Regions from separate parts of the Homo sapiens genome. Here region 2 is linked to region 1. The links are contacts of gene promoters, found by promoter capture Hi-C in blood cells and fetal thymus (Javierre and others, 2016). All regions are on one chromosome and are shown on one strand. The core of a region is centred on a gene start or on the middle of the fragment in contact, and the rest is flanking DNA. Distances in the headings are between cores, read along the strand shown. Region 1 holds the start of PITPNM3 (PITPNM family member 3). Region 2 overlaps NLRP1 (NLR family pyrin domain containing 1).

Region 1 (5,703 bases), core at 1,080-3,579:
AGGAGAATCGCCTCAGCCCAGGAGGCGGAGGTTGCAGTGAGCCGAGATCAAGCCATGCCCTCCAGCCTGGGAGACAGACCGAGACTCCATCTCAAAAAAAAAAAAAAAAAAAAAGGAGAGAAGGGACATTTACAAAATGCAGAGGAGCCTGGGAGAGCTGAGCTGAGAAGGGAGAGGTAACCAGACTCCTTGGGATGACTGCTGAGTGTGGGGGGCAGGAGCCCAGGCACTGGATCTACAGACACGGGGAATCTGTGTTGCCTCGAGGGAAAGGGCCAAGCGTGAAATTGCAGCAGAAAAAAACCAAAATGTTAGAACAGCACAAGGCATTGATGCTCAGAGCAGGGCAGTTTTTCCACCTGTCACTGGAACAAATTCCCACAGACTCTCAGCCCAGGGACCAAAGGACCCACAGGCTAAGGCAGAGGGACTGAGACTGGCACCCCCATTTGGTAAGGGGGTGACCTATCAGGGCAGTGACAGAGAGAGTCCTTCGAGTCCAATAGACCTGGCTGTGAGTCCAGGCTCTGCCCAGACCCTCTAAGCCACCTTGAGGCTGCTATTTCTCTGAGTATCTGTTTCTAGATGTTTTAAAAGTGGGAGAGTCGCATTTCCTCCCTCCCAGGATCACGGTACAGTAAAGAGCTTAGCACTCTGCCTAATACATAGAACAAGCAGCAAATGTTCACTGCCGTTGCGATGACAGTGCCCTGGCAGGTGACCTGTGCTCAAGGCGTCCCAGTGCACACACACACTCACACACACACAGGGTAGGGCAGCAGATGGGACACACGCCCTGCCACAGGCCATTTTAAGGAGTCGGGGTGGGTGAGGACCCAGGCACGGTGGAGGAAAGAGGGAGGCAAGAAGCCTTTTTCAGCTTCCTTGGTGTCATCTCACAGTGCCTCCCTCAGGAGGGGAAAAGGGAGGGGAGTGAGAAGGCTGTTTAGCTGTGTTCCATACTGGCTGTGCCTCACACAACCGGCCCCACCCCGACAGGACTCCTTGGGGACAGAACGGGAGTGCATTCTCAGGCACCTAAATCTTACAGGCTCAGTGCCTGCACAGGGAGACGGGTCCGCAGCCCAGGGTCCCGGGCAGCTTTCGGGCTTGGGGGTGGATTGACACACAGCCCGATGGTATTCACACCCATTCCTTCACTGTCGCGCCCGGTCCTGGGGGACGGCATGGCACCAGCCAACGTCACGGGTTGGGTGTGAGTTCATGGTAGATTCTCACACGCCAGCCTCACAAGAGGCACTGCCGAGACCAGGCTTGCTGCCGCCTACTGTATGGCCGGCCCTGTGGGCACAGCTGTCCTCCACCCGCCTCCCAAGGCACCATCGGGCCCAGAATGTGCCCGATGAGTCACGGGCCTGGGTCTCCCCAGCATGGGCGCAGCAGGGGGGCTGAGTCCGCCTGAGCCCCGGTGCCCAGCTCAGGGTCTGGCACAGAGCAGATGCTAGTGAATGAACGTCGGGCTGGATGAATGAACGAATGACTAATGCCCGCTCCCTCAAACCACAGGCTACACCGTCTGAGCCTGGGGGAGGGCAGAGCCCACGGGACCCCAGAAGAGGCCTCCGCAGCTGAGGCTTTGCGTCCCAGGGTCGATGGGGGAGGGGGCGGGGCGGCCAGCAGCCGGCGCGGCACGGGGCTCCCCTCCTTCCCGAGAAGGAATCTGGGTCTCTGGACTGAGCTGGTGACGGGGGCTGGGGCGGGGGGTTGTGGCGTCCTGGATGGAGAGAGCTGCAGGAGCAGGGGGCGCGTCCCGGTTTGCGTTGGGGTGTGGGACGAAGCGGCGGCCGCGGGACATCCCCTTCGGTGGCGAAGCCCGGGTCTGCCCGGGGCCTCCGCGGGGTGCAGAGGGCTCCCAACGGCGGGACTGGCCCGGGGCGCCGCAGACCTGGCCCTTTCCGGCGGGGCCGTGGAGAAGGGGACGCGGTGTCCCCCGAGGTGACCGGGGGCGCAGGAAGGACGGGGGGCGCGCGGAGCCCCCTCTCCACGCGCGGGAGGTCCAGCCCCGCTACCGCCCCCTACGCCCTCCCGGGACCTCCGCCCACCTGCGCGAGGGGTTCACCTGGGCCGGCGGCCCCTCCTCTAGACGCGCGAGTCCCTCCCCCGGGCCCCGGCCCTGCCCTCCCCGCGCCCGCCCTCACCTGCACGGCCCGCCTTGGCCATGTCCCGGGCGGCGGGCTCCGGCGGCGCTACGCGCGCTCCTCGCGCTTCCCGGGCCCGGCCCCGACCGCCTCCGGCCCCGAACGGACTCCGAGCGCCGCGCCCGCGCCCCCGCCCCGCTCGCCTCGGCTGCCGCCACCGCAGCCGCCGCCGCCTCGCCGCTCCCTCCCGCTCCCTTAAAGGCGCCGAGCGGCGGCCGCGCCCCCCCCCCACCCCACCCCCCGCGCCGCCGGGGAGGGACTGACGAAGGAAGGCGCCCAACGCCGCCCCCGCGGGCCCGCACCCCCGCCCCGGGCCGTGGCCGCCGCGCTCCAGCCCGCTCCGCTCCGGCCCGCGCGGCCACCGCAGCGCGCGAGGGGCGGCAGCCCAGGGGCTCAGAGACGCGGAGACAGCCCGAGACACTGCGGGCCAGAGACGGGGCCCTGGACTGGGAGAGGGGCGCACAGACTATTAGACAGCGCTGGAGAGAGACGCTCCTAGGGCCAGAACGCCGAGGTGGAGGGAGAGAGAGAGAAATTCAGAGGAGACCAGAGACCCAGAGCCCGGCTCCGGCTCCGGGAGAGACGGACAGAGGGAGCGGAGAGAGGAAGGAGGACAGGGATCCAAGGGAGGCCCCCACGAAGTCAAGAGGAAAGTCGCTCTGGGATCAGAGACAAGAGAGGGACCCCCTCCATCAGCCCCCGCTCCAGGGGTTCTGGATCATTTATGGCGTCTGACCTAACCTCAAAAGAGAAAGGATTCCCGTGATTTTAACCCTCAAGGGATAAGTAAAACACTTGCACATCCACCTGGGGTTCTAGGCTGGAGCAGGCTTTGTGGACCCCAGCGGCCTGGTGGTGAGCAGTACCCGCCTTCCACTTCCTAAATCGGGATGCAGAGATTCTAGTGGACAGGCCTTGTGGTCCGGGGAGATATGGGTTATGACTTCTGTTTAGGGGCAGCAGGGATCCACAGTCCAGCCCCAAAAGAGAGCAGGAGATGGCCAATTGTATTTGGCGGTGCCTGAGAGGTAACAACCCTCCACTGAGAGGGTGCCCTGCCTCCCCCAGGAATTGGTAAGGCTGAAGCCCAGTTACCATCTGTAGAGCCAGGCACCCAACCCACCCTGTCCCACTCCACTTAACAGGGAAAAGGTCAACTGGAGAATTCCATCCATGGTCCAGGCTCCAGGGTCCTGCAAGCTCCTCTATGGAAACAGGGCACACATGGGGTTAGATGGGGGCTCTCAGTCCAGTGCCTTCTCTGGGGCTTTGACTCCATTCACAAGATTCCTGCTAAGCAGTCCTCCAGCTCCTGGTTGGTTACCTCCAAGGACAGGAAGCTCAGTATCTTAAGTGAGAGTTCTTCCTTTTATTAATTTTTTTTTTTTTTTTTTGGCTAGTGCTGGCCTTAAGAATGTTCTTACTCGTTTGAGCTGAAATCTACAACCCGCATGTCCCATCCATGAGTTCTGCTCTGCCTTCCGACACCTCACCCAACAAAACCAGGGCTTCCCAAGGCCTTCTACCCAAACTCCCTAGTATGGATTCACCCAGGGAGAACAACCATCCACGTTTGCCAGAGCTCACCTCCCAGGAAACCCATGAGTCCCAAGAGCTCTGGATCCCAGAGCCAGATGACAGCACCAACTCCAACAGATGTAGAATTTCAGAAGCTCTGGGCTCCTGAATCCAACGCTGTTCACCAGCACCTGCCATTGGTCACCAGCTGGGAGAGCAGGAATGGACCCTGCAGCCTTTCCCCACTATGAGAATGGGACTGGGGATGAGAATAACAAGGACTATTGATTGAACAGGCGGTATTTACCCTCATGTACTCTCTCAGCTACATTGCGTTATCCTCAGCATACACATAACGAAGTGGGGGCTAAGAAAGTTCGGTGCTTGTGGTCATGGAGGATCAATTTCAGGCCCCTGTGCTTTGTCTACTGGGCCTCACTGGCCTCACCCTTCCCTGAGGTGTTTCAGAGGCCTGATAGCCTGGACAATGTCCAGGCTTGGCCACCTGGTCTGTAGGTGTGAGTGGTCACGCAGGAGACAGAACGCTGGCTGCAGAAGAAGCAATGCGCCTGCCACAGAGGGGACACGCCTGGGCCTGAGCTCCTCCCCAGCCCTGGCTCACAGTAGCAGCAGTGACCAGAGGGCATCAAGGGCCCTCCTGCTTCTGGGCACAGCTTCACGTTGTGTTTGTGTGTGTGCCTGGGTATGTGTGCATGGGGTGTATGTGTGTGTGCTTGTGTGTGCTTAGGGATGCATGCATGGGTGTGTGTAGGCACACTCGTACACACAAACACAGGCAAACACCTGCTGACAGATGCTCCCTGGGTGGGCACCCAGACCCCTTCCCCTCCCACCACTTAGTCCTCACAAACCCTAAACTAGTCACCCAGAAGGGCCTGGGTGGAGCGGTTAAGGGGAGGTGCCAAGTTGATGGGAGTTTCAGAACTCATCTCTCCAGACCACTCCACACCCCATTTCTCAGATGGGAAGACAGTAAGCCAGATCTGTCCCCTGAAAACCACGACTCAGAGGCCCAGATCCATGGTTCCCCTCTTTAAACCTTCACCCCAGCCTCTGTCCGCCCCTAAGGCAGCCCCTGAAGGCACTGACTGTTACCAGCTGCCAAGGAAGTTCCAGCCCAGCCTTCTGACAGAGCAAACACATCAAAACTCAAGGCCATTAGATTAACTGGTGGGAGTTAACTTCCTGCGTCAGAAGAATTGTCCTTAATTGAAGAAAGGGATAACTAGCAATTTAGCCACGCTGACCTCTGCTGCCCGGAGGAAAGAGAGGCAGGAGCCAGCCAGGGCCTACGGGGCCTCCCAGTTACCAGAGTTACTGTGCCAGTAACTCTCCCAGTTACCAGAGTTACTGTGCCAGGAGACCAGATCAAATCCCTTCTCTGAGACCTGGCACCCAGGCCCTTTCCTCTGACCACAGCTTGTTCTGCTCCTGCCTTCACAGTGGCCAGCTGCTCCCAGGCCCAGGCAAGCATCTAGCCCAGAGAACCAGTAAAAATGAGCAGGGGCCCATCCTGTCAATGGCTGTGGAGGACGTGTGCAGAGATGTGGACAGGTTGGAGAGCTCCAGGTGGGTAAGGAGTGGGAGCTGGCTGCAAGACAACTCCTCGACATGGCAGACCCCAGGCCTGGCTATCCAGCCTGGACAGCTGGTGTGAGCACTTGGAAAGCTAAGTGACAGTTCCTAGGAGCCAACATGGCCCCCCTGAAAGCTAGTCATGCCAGGCAAAGCTCATTTCCTATTTGGACACGGTTATAACGACTAGTGGAGTTGGGCATCGCCTTGCCTTCTGGGCCTGGGTTGGGGCACGGCTGCTGCCCAGCTCTCTGACAGTAACTTTGTAAACAACAAAGGGAGTCAGGAGCAAGAAGATAGCCTGGTCAAGTGGCTTACCCCGGTCCACTCCCTGATGGGCTCCAGTGGAGGGAGCCTCCACCTCCCTCCAGGACTTGAGCCATGTCAAGCATCTCAGCGCAAGTGCTCACAACAGAGAATAAGCTGTGTA
Region 2 (5,703 bases), core at 916-3,415, 1.0 Mb before region 1:
CTTGCTCTGTCACCCAGGCTGGAGTGCAGTGCACGATCATGACTCACTGTAGCCTTGACCTTCCAGGCTCAAGTGCTCCTCTCACCTCAGCCTCCTGAGTAGTTGGAACTACAGGTGCGCACCACCATGCCTGGCTAATTCTTCAATATTTTTTTGTGGAGATGGGGTCTCACTATGTTGCCCAGGCTTGTCTCAGACTCCTGGGCTCAAGTCATCCTCCCGTTTCTGCCTCCCAAAGTGTTGGAATTACAGGTGTGAGCCACTGCACCCAGCCACTAAGGTATTTTGAATATCCATTTTGCTTAATCTGAGTTTTGGGACTCTATATTGTTATACGATTCAGTAAGTGTTGGTTCCAGGAAGACAACAGTTTTGAGGCCTGAGGGATACCACTGTGGTTTCCAGCCATCTCATCTGGTTGAACTCCTGAGTAGGTGGGCAGGGGGAGGGAGTGGGAATGGGGCGAGACCCCACTCAGGTGTCTGTGTGAAGTGTTCTTGTTCCCACAGGCAGCACAGAGAGGAGCAAGTGTGACAAAAATGAGGGAACTCACTTCCTCTTGGAGGGAGGGTTGTGTGGAGAGCAGAGGTCTGTGTGTGCTGAAGGAGATGGGTGGGTGGGGGAACGAAGGACCCGAAGGACAAGGCCAGCTTCATGGATGTGTGGCCTGTGCAGTCACACAGGGTCCTGAGCTCAGCAGGGCTTGGTGCTTGGTTTCATGTTTGGTGGTCTTGACATTCTTAATCATTTTTGAATGAAGAGCTCCGCGCTTTCATTTTGTGCTGGGCCCTATGACTGCTGGAGCTGGTCCTGCAGGAGGGTGAGAATGCCCATTGCCACGGTGATGAAGCTGAGAGGCTGAAAGCCTCAAGCTCTAGCTATAGTGGGAGAAAACTCACCATGGAAAGTTAATGACTCATCACCCGTTCAGCGACGACAGTGATGAAGCACCAGTGCCCAAGTCCTAAATCAGACCCTGTGTCAGGCAGTGAGGTCATCGTTTCCAGGGCAATGAACAGCTGCAGCCCAGACAGCAGGCAGCAAGCATTTCTGGAAGGGGCCCTGCCCGGCCCCAGGGATTGGTTTCCTGGCTGGTCACAGCTAGCTAAAAGCAGCCTCTGTGCATTTTGCCTCTTGTTCTGTGGCAGGGGTGTCCAATCTTTTGGCTTCCCTGGGTCACATTGGAAGAAGAAGAATTGTCTTGGGCCACACATGTAAAATATACTAACACTAATGATAGCTGGTGAGCTTTAAAAAATTCGCAAGAAAGTCTCATAATGTTTTAAGAAAGTTTACGAATTCACGTTGGGCTTCATCGAAAGCCATCCTGGGCCGCATGTGGCCCACAGGCCGCAGGTTGTACAAGCTTGTGTACGGAGTCCAAAGGGAGTAAATCCTATCTGGCCACAAGGTGAGGCTCAGAATTTGGTCTAGAGAAGGCTAGTGGGACATGGGCTTGGGCAGGACTGGGGAGGGGTAGGGGTGTAGCTCTTAGCCTGGGATAAACAGGACTTGGGATAGAATCCCAACTCTGGAAGAGGGTCTTCACCTCTCTCGGCTTCAGTTTCCTCACTGGTACACCAAGGGAAAACTGTAGTGCCTAATTTCCCGGTTCATTATGAAAAAAGAGATGATATTAATATATACGGAACTACCTTGCATGGTTCCAGGCACAGGATGCTCAGTTATTGTTCACAGTTCTTATTGGCCAAGTTCCAGTGCCACAAAGGACAGTGCCACAAGCACAGTGAATTCATTCCTATTCTGATTTGGCTGTCAGCCTGGCAGGCTTCAGCTAGATGCCTGTGCACTCGGAGGGTCACCCAATTCCTTGGACAAATCCCGTCTCCCAGGCCCACTTGATGCACGCAGGAGACTGAGCAGGGCATGGCCTGGGAGTCCTCACAATGGGGAGGGCCAGCTCATCCACCTCTGAGAGTGGGGAATGAGGGGGCGCTGGAGCAGGACCTGAAGGCAGACTTTGTCCCCTCGGGCCCTGGTGGTACATTCTGGCTCCAGACCTTAGCTGCATGAGGTTTCTCCTGGAATACCCTGGTTAGAGCAGGGAGTGGTGGTGCAGCCCTGAGCATCCCAGGTTGGGGCAAGCCAAGTTCTTTTGCTGCTGGTCATGGGCAGAGCTACGACAGAGCTGAGCCCACTGACTCTATTAGCCAGGCCCCTCTCTTCTTGATAGAGTACCTGGGGATCCCTGGCCACGGTCTCACTTGTGGAAGAGGCAGGCTGGTTGTGGTAGTGGCTGTGTTCATTACTCTATAGATTGCCCGGTGGGAACAAGTAACTTGTCCCAGCTTCTTGTTTCAGCCATCAGTTTCCTCTCCTCAATCTCTTCCTTTCTAAATGGACCTCTACAATTCCAGAGCTGTCTTGCACCTCTTCCCTCTATTCTGTTTTAGTCTGGGACCTTCCCTAGGGAATGCCCATATGACCCTGACTGTTCAACCAGGTGCCCCAGGGATCCTGAGGCCCCCGGGACTCTATTTCCCTGCCCCATGCTCTCCTCCTGGTGTGCAGCTTGAATTGTTTACTGAACTTTTGTGGCCTCAACAAACAAGACTTTCCTGGTTCTGGGTACTGAGCAGTTCCCTGCTTTTTATTTTTCTCATTTGATTTTTCTCTTTCTACTAGCTTCTAAATAATTTTTCTTATATATATGCCTTGATTACCTTAATATATGCATACTGTAAAGTTAATACCTTTATTTTGAGGTGATACTAAAAATACATTGAACTACTGGGATGATACTACAACATATCAACTAACAAATGAGAAATTAAAAATAAATTCTCATTTACCTCTATTCCTGGGAAATAAAGAAATTAAGACAAGAAAAAATATTAAAAACCCATTTAATATCTAGCTAAACTGTACAAATCATAAAAGTGCTTATAACTGATGTAAGCTATAACATAAATTGTTTATCAAATCATTTTATCAGCAATTAAATGAAGCTTCTATTGGAGTCATGATTTGACATGGGGACACATCAGATTCTTCTAACTTGCTCACTAAATTGACAGACATTGGCTGGGCACAGTGGCTCACACCTATAACCCTTTCTTTCTGGCTGATGTCAAGGCTTTCCCTCATACTTTCTTATTCTGTAGTTTCACATTAATGAGACTAATCTTGATTTTTTCTCTCCCTTCTCTCTCTCTTTCCTGCATTGCAGTTTTGGGGATTCTCATTCTGAGAAGTCTCATATGTCTCAATACTTCCAGAAATTTGTTTGCAATTGTCTTGTTGAATATTCTATTTTTTTCCCTTCTATCTTATCTTTCTGGAATTCCATTTAGATATATATTAGGACTTATCATGGTATCCTACAAGTTACTTGATTGTTTATTCTTTTTTTTTTTTTTTTGAGACAGAGTCTCGCTCTGTGGCCCAGGCTGGAGTGCAGTGGTGCGATCTTGGCTCACTGCAAGCTCCACCTCCTGGGTTCACGCCATTCTCCTGCCTCAGCCTTCCGAGTAGCTGGGACTACAGGCGCCTGCCGCCACGCCCGGCTAATTTTTGTATTTTTAGTAGAGACGGGGTTTCACTGTGTTAGCCAGGATGGTCGCAATCTCCTGACCTCGTGATCCGCCCTCCTCGGCCTCCCAAAGTCCTGGGATCACAGGCGTGAGCCACTGCGCCCGGCCTTGTTTTTTCATTTTTTTTAGTCAATTTAGTTTCCAACTTTGATTTGTCATTTTTAATGGTTCATTGCTTTTTGCTGATAGTTTTAAGGTTACTTTTTTTTTTTTGGTCATATTATACACACTTATTTTATGTTCTTTTTCTGATAATTTCAGCATCTGAAGGATTTAAGGGACTGATTCTGGTATCTGTCGTTTCTGCTGGCTCTTACTTCTGGTGCCTTGTTTCCCCTTTGTGAGATTTTTGACTGTTAGCTGATATTTCTTGGAACTCTGTGGGAAGTCTTTGGAGGTGACATAAAATCATACTTTGTGATTACTATCTTCTATGGGAAGCCCCTGTTTCATGGCTCCAGCTCTCAGATGGCGTCTGATGACACTGTTTCTTCTCCCTGCCTGTAGGAGTAGTGATGGCTTCCTATTGTTGCTAGTCCCTGTTGCCCCAACATTCTTCGTTAGTTCACTTAGCCTTACTTTGTAAATGGTCCTGTCTTTGAAAAGCTTCTTCAAAAATCTCAACTGAGCATATCATCTCTTTCCTGCTGGGACCTTGAGTGATACAGTCTATATAAATGACACTTAATAAAAACTTTCAAGTAAGTTTAGGCAGATATAATTATGAGGCTGGGAGATGTGTTTCAAAAAGATAAGTCCAGAGAAGAGTGGAATGCAGGAAAATCTTAGTCCCCATCTCCATAACCCCCCCTCGGCCCCTCTAAGGAAGCCACAACACCCTCTCCCAGGAGATTATCATTCTACACTCCCTTTCAGGCCCATAATTACCACCACCTTCCTCCCTATCCTTCCCTGTTGTTTACCTTGGAGAGCCACAAAGTGAGGGAGGTGCACAGCTTCCACAGCTCCAGGCTCAGCCTTGATGTCCAGCAGAGGCCCTGCCACCATCCAGCTGTGCTGTGGGTTGATCTCACCCAGGAACTGGTCCCACACACAGAATTCAATCTCAACGGTCACCGCTTCTCTCATCACAAAGCAGAGACCCGTGTTGGGCCAGCGGTAGGAGCCAGCTACAGGGAAGTGAACTCTGGGAAGAAGAGGGAGAGGCAGACACTTACTGCACGAACTCACTGAGCACCTGCTGGATGCCAGACCCCATGCAGGGGCTTGCGGATACGGTACAGTGGCTTCAAGCCCAGACTTCGGAATCAGATGGACTTGCATTTTAGTCCTGGCTCTTCTGCTCTTGACTGTGGATCCCTGAGCAAGTCATTTAACCTTCCTGTTTTTGGTTTCCTCATCTGTAAGTAGGAGTAATTATAGCTCCCATCTCCTAGTTACGAGAATAAGTGACTTAATGCATGCTCACAGCTTAGTACACGCCTGGGAGCTGTGAACTGTTTCTACTATGTTGATGATGGCAATGATGGTAATGATGAAATAACAAGTGTTCGTATATGTAAGGGGCCTATTTAGCAATAATTAATAACAATATATGTGCTAAGATTATCTGTCTTGTCTTGTCTGTCTATCTATCTATCTATCTAATCTATCTAATCTATCTATCTATCTATCTATCTATCTATCTATCTATCTATCTATCTATCTAATCTATGGAAATATGGTCTCACTCTGTTGCCCAGGCTGGAGCGCAGTGGCCCGATCTTGGTTCACTGCAGCCTCGAAATCCCTGGCTTAGGCAATTCTTCCACCTCAGCTCCCTGAGTAGCTAGGACTACAGGTACATGTCACCACGTCCAGCTAATTTTTTTGGTAATTTTTGTAGACACAAGGTTTTGCCATGTTGTCCAGGCTGGCCTTGAACTCCTGGACTCAAGTGATCCTCCTGCCTCGGTCTCTTAAAGTGCTGGGATTATAGGCATGAGCCACTATGCCTGGCCGTATGTGCTAATATTAATGCTAAACCCTTAGAATTGGAAACAACACTTTTATAGAGATCAGAAGTGATTTTCCCAAGGCTCCTCAGGTGGGTTAATAGTGGGTCCCGGGATGCCCCAGCTTCTGTAGGTGTGAGCTGGGAGTGACGCTGTCTCCTGGTTGAGATGATGTCTGTGGCAGTGTTTGGTGA

The links. Contacts are between HindIII fragments. The CHiCAGO score rates a contact against its expected background, and 5 or more counts as called.
Region 2: a contact is called between a fragment that was not itself captured here and the fragment with the promoter of PITPNM3 in region 1, in 4 of 17 cell types (M1 macrophages, M2 macrophages, M0 macrophages and 1 more). The highest score is 8.8, in M1 macrophages.

What each region holds. Positions count from the first base shown.
Region 1 is chr17:6,554,226-6,559,928 of GRCh38, forward strand. PITPNM3 (PITPNM family member 3) reads right to left here and starts at 2,330. Exons shown (of 20, transcript NM_031220.4): 1 at 2,160-2,330. The coding sequence starts at 2,181. RefSeq lists an enhancer at 595-1,241. The HindIII fragment of the contact is 11,474 bases long and covers 1-5,703 here.
Region 2 is chr17:5,526,004-5,531,706 of GRCh38, forward strand. It overlaps NLRP1 (NLR family pyrin domain containing 1), which reads right to left. Exons shown (of 17, transcript NM_033004.4): 12 at 4,478-4,701. The region is part of intron 1 of LOC124903902 (a long non-coding RNA gene); the gene reads left to right. Among named protein-coding and RNA genes, the nearest start is that of MIS12, 42 kb to the left of the region's middle. The HindIII fragment of the contact is 1,603 bases long and covers 1,365-2,967 here.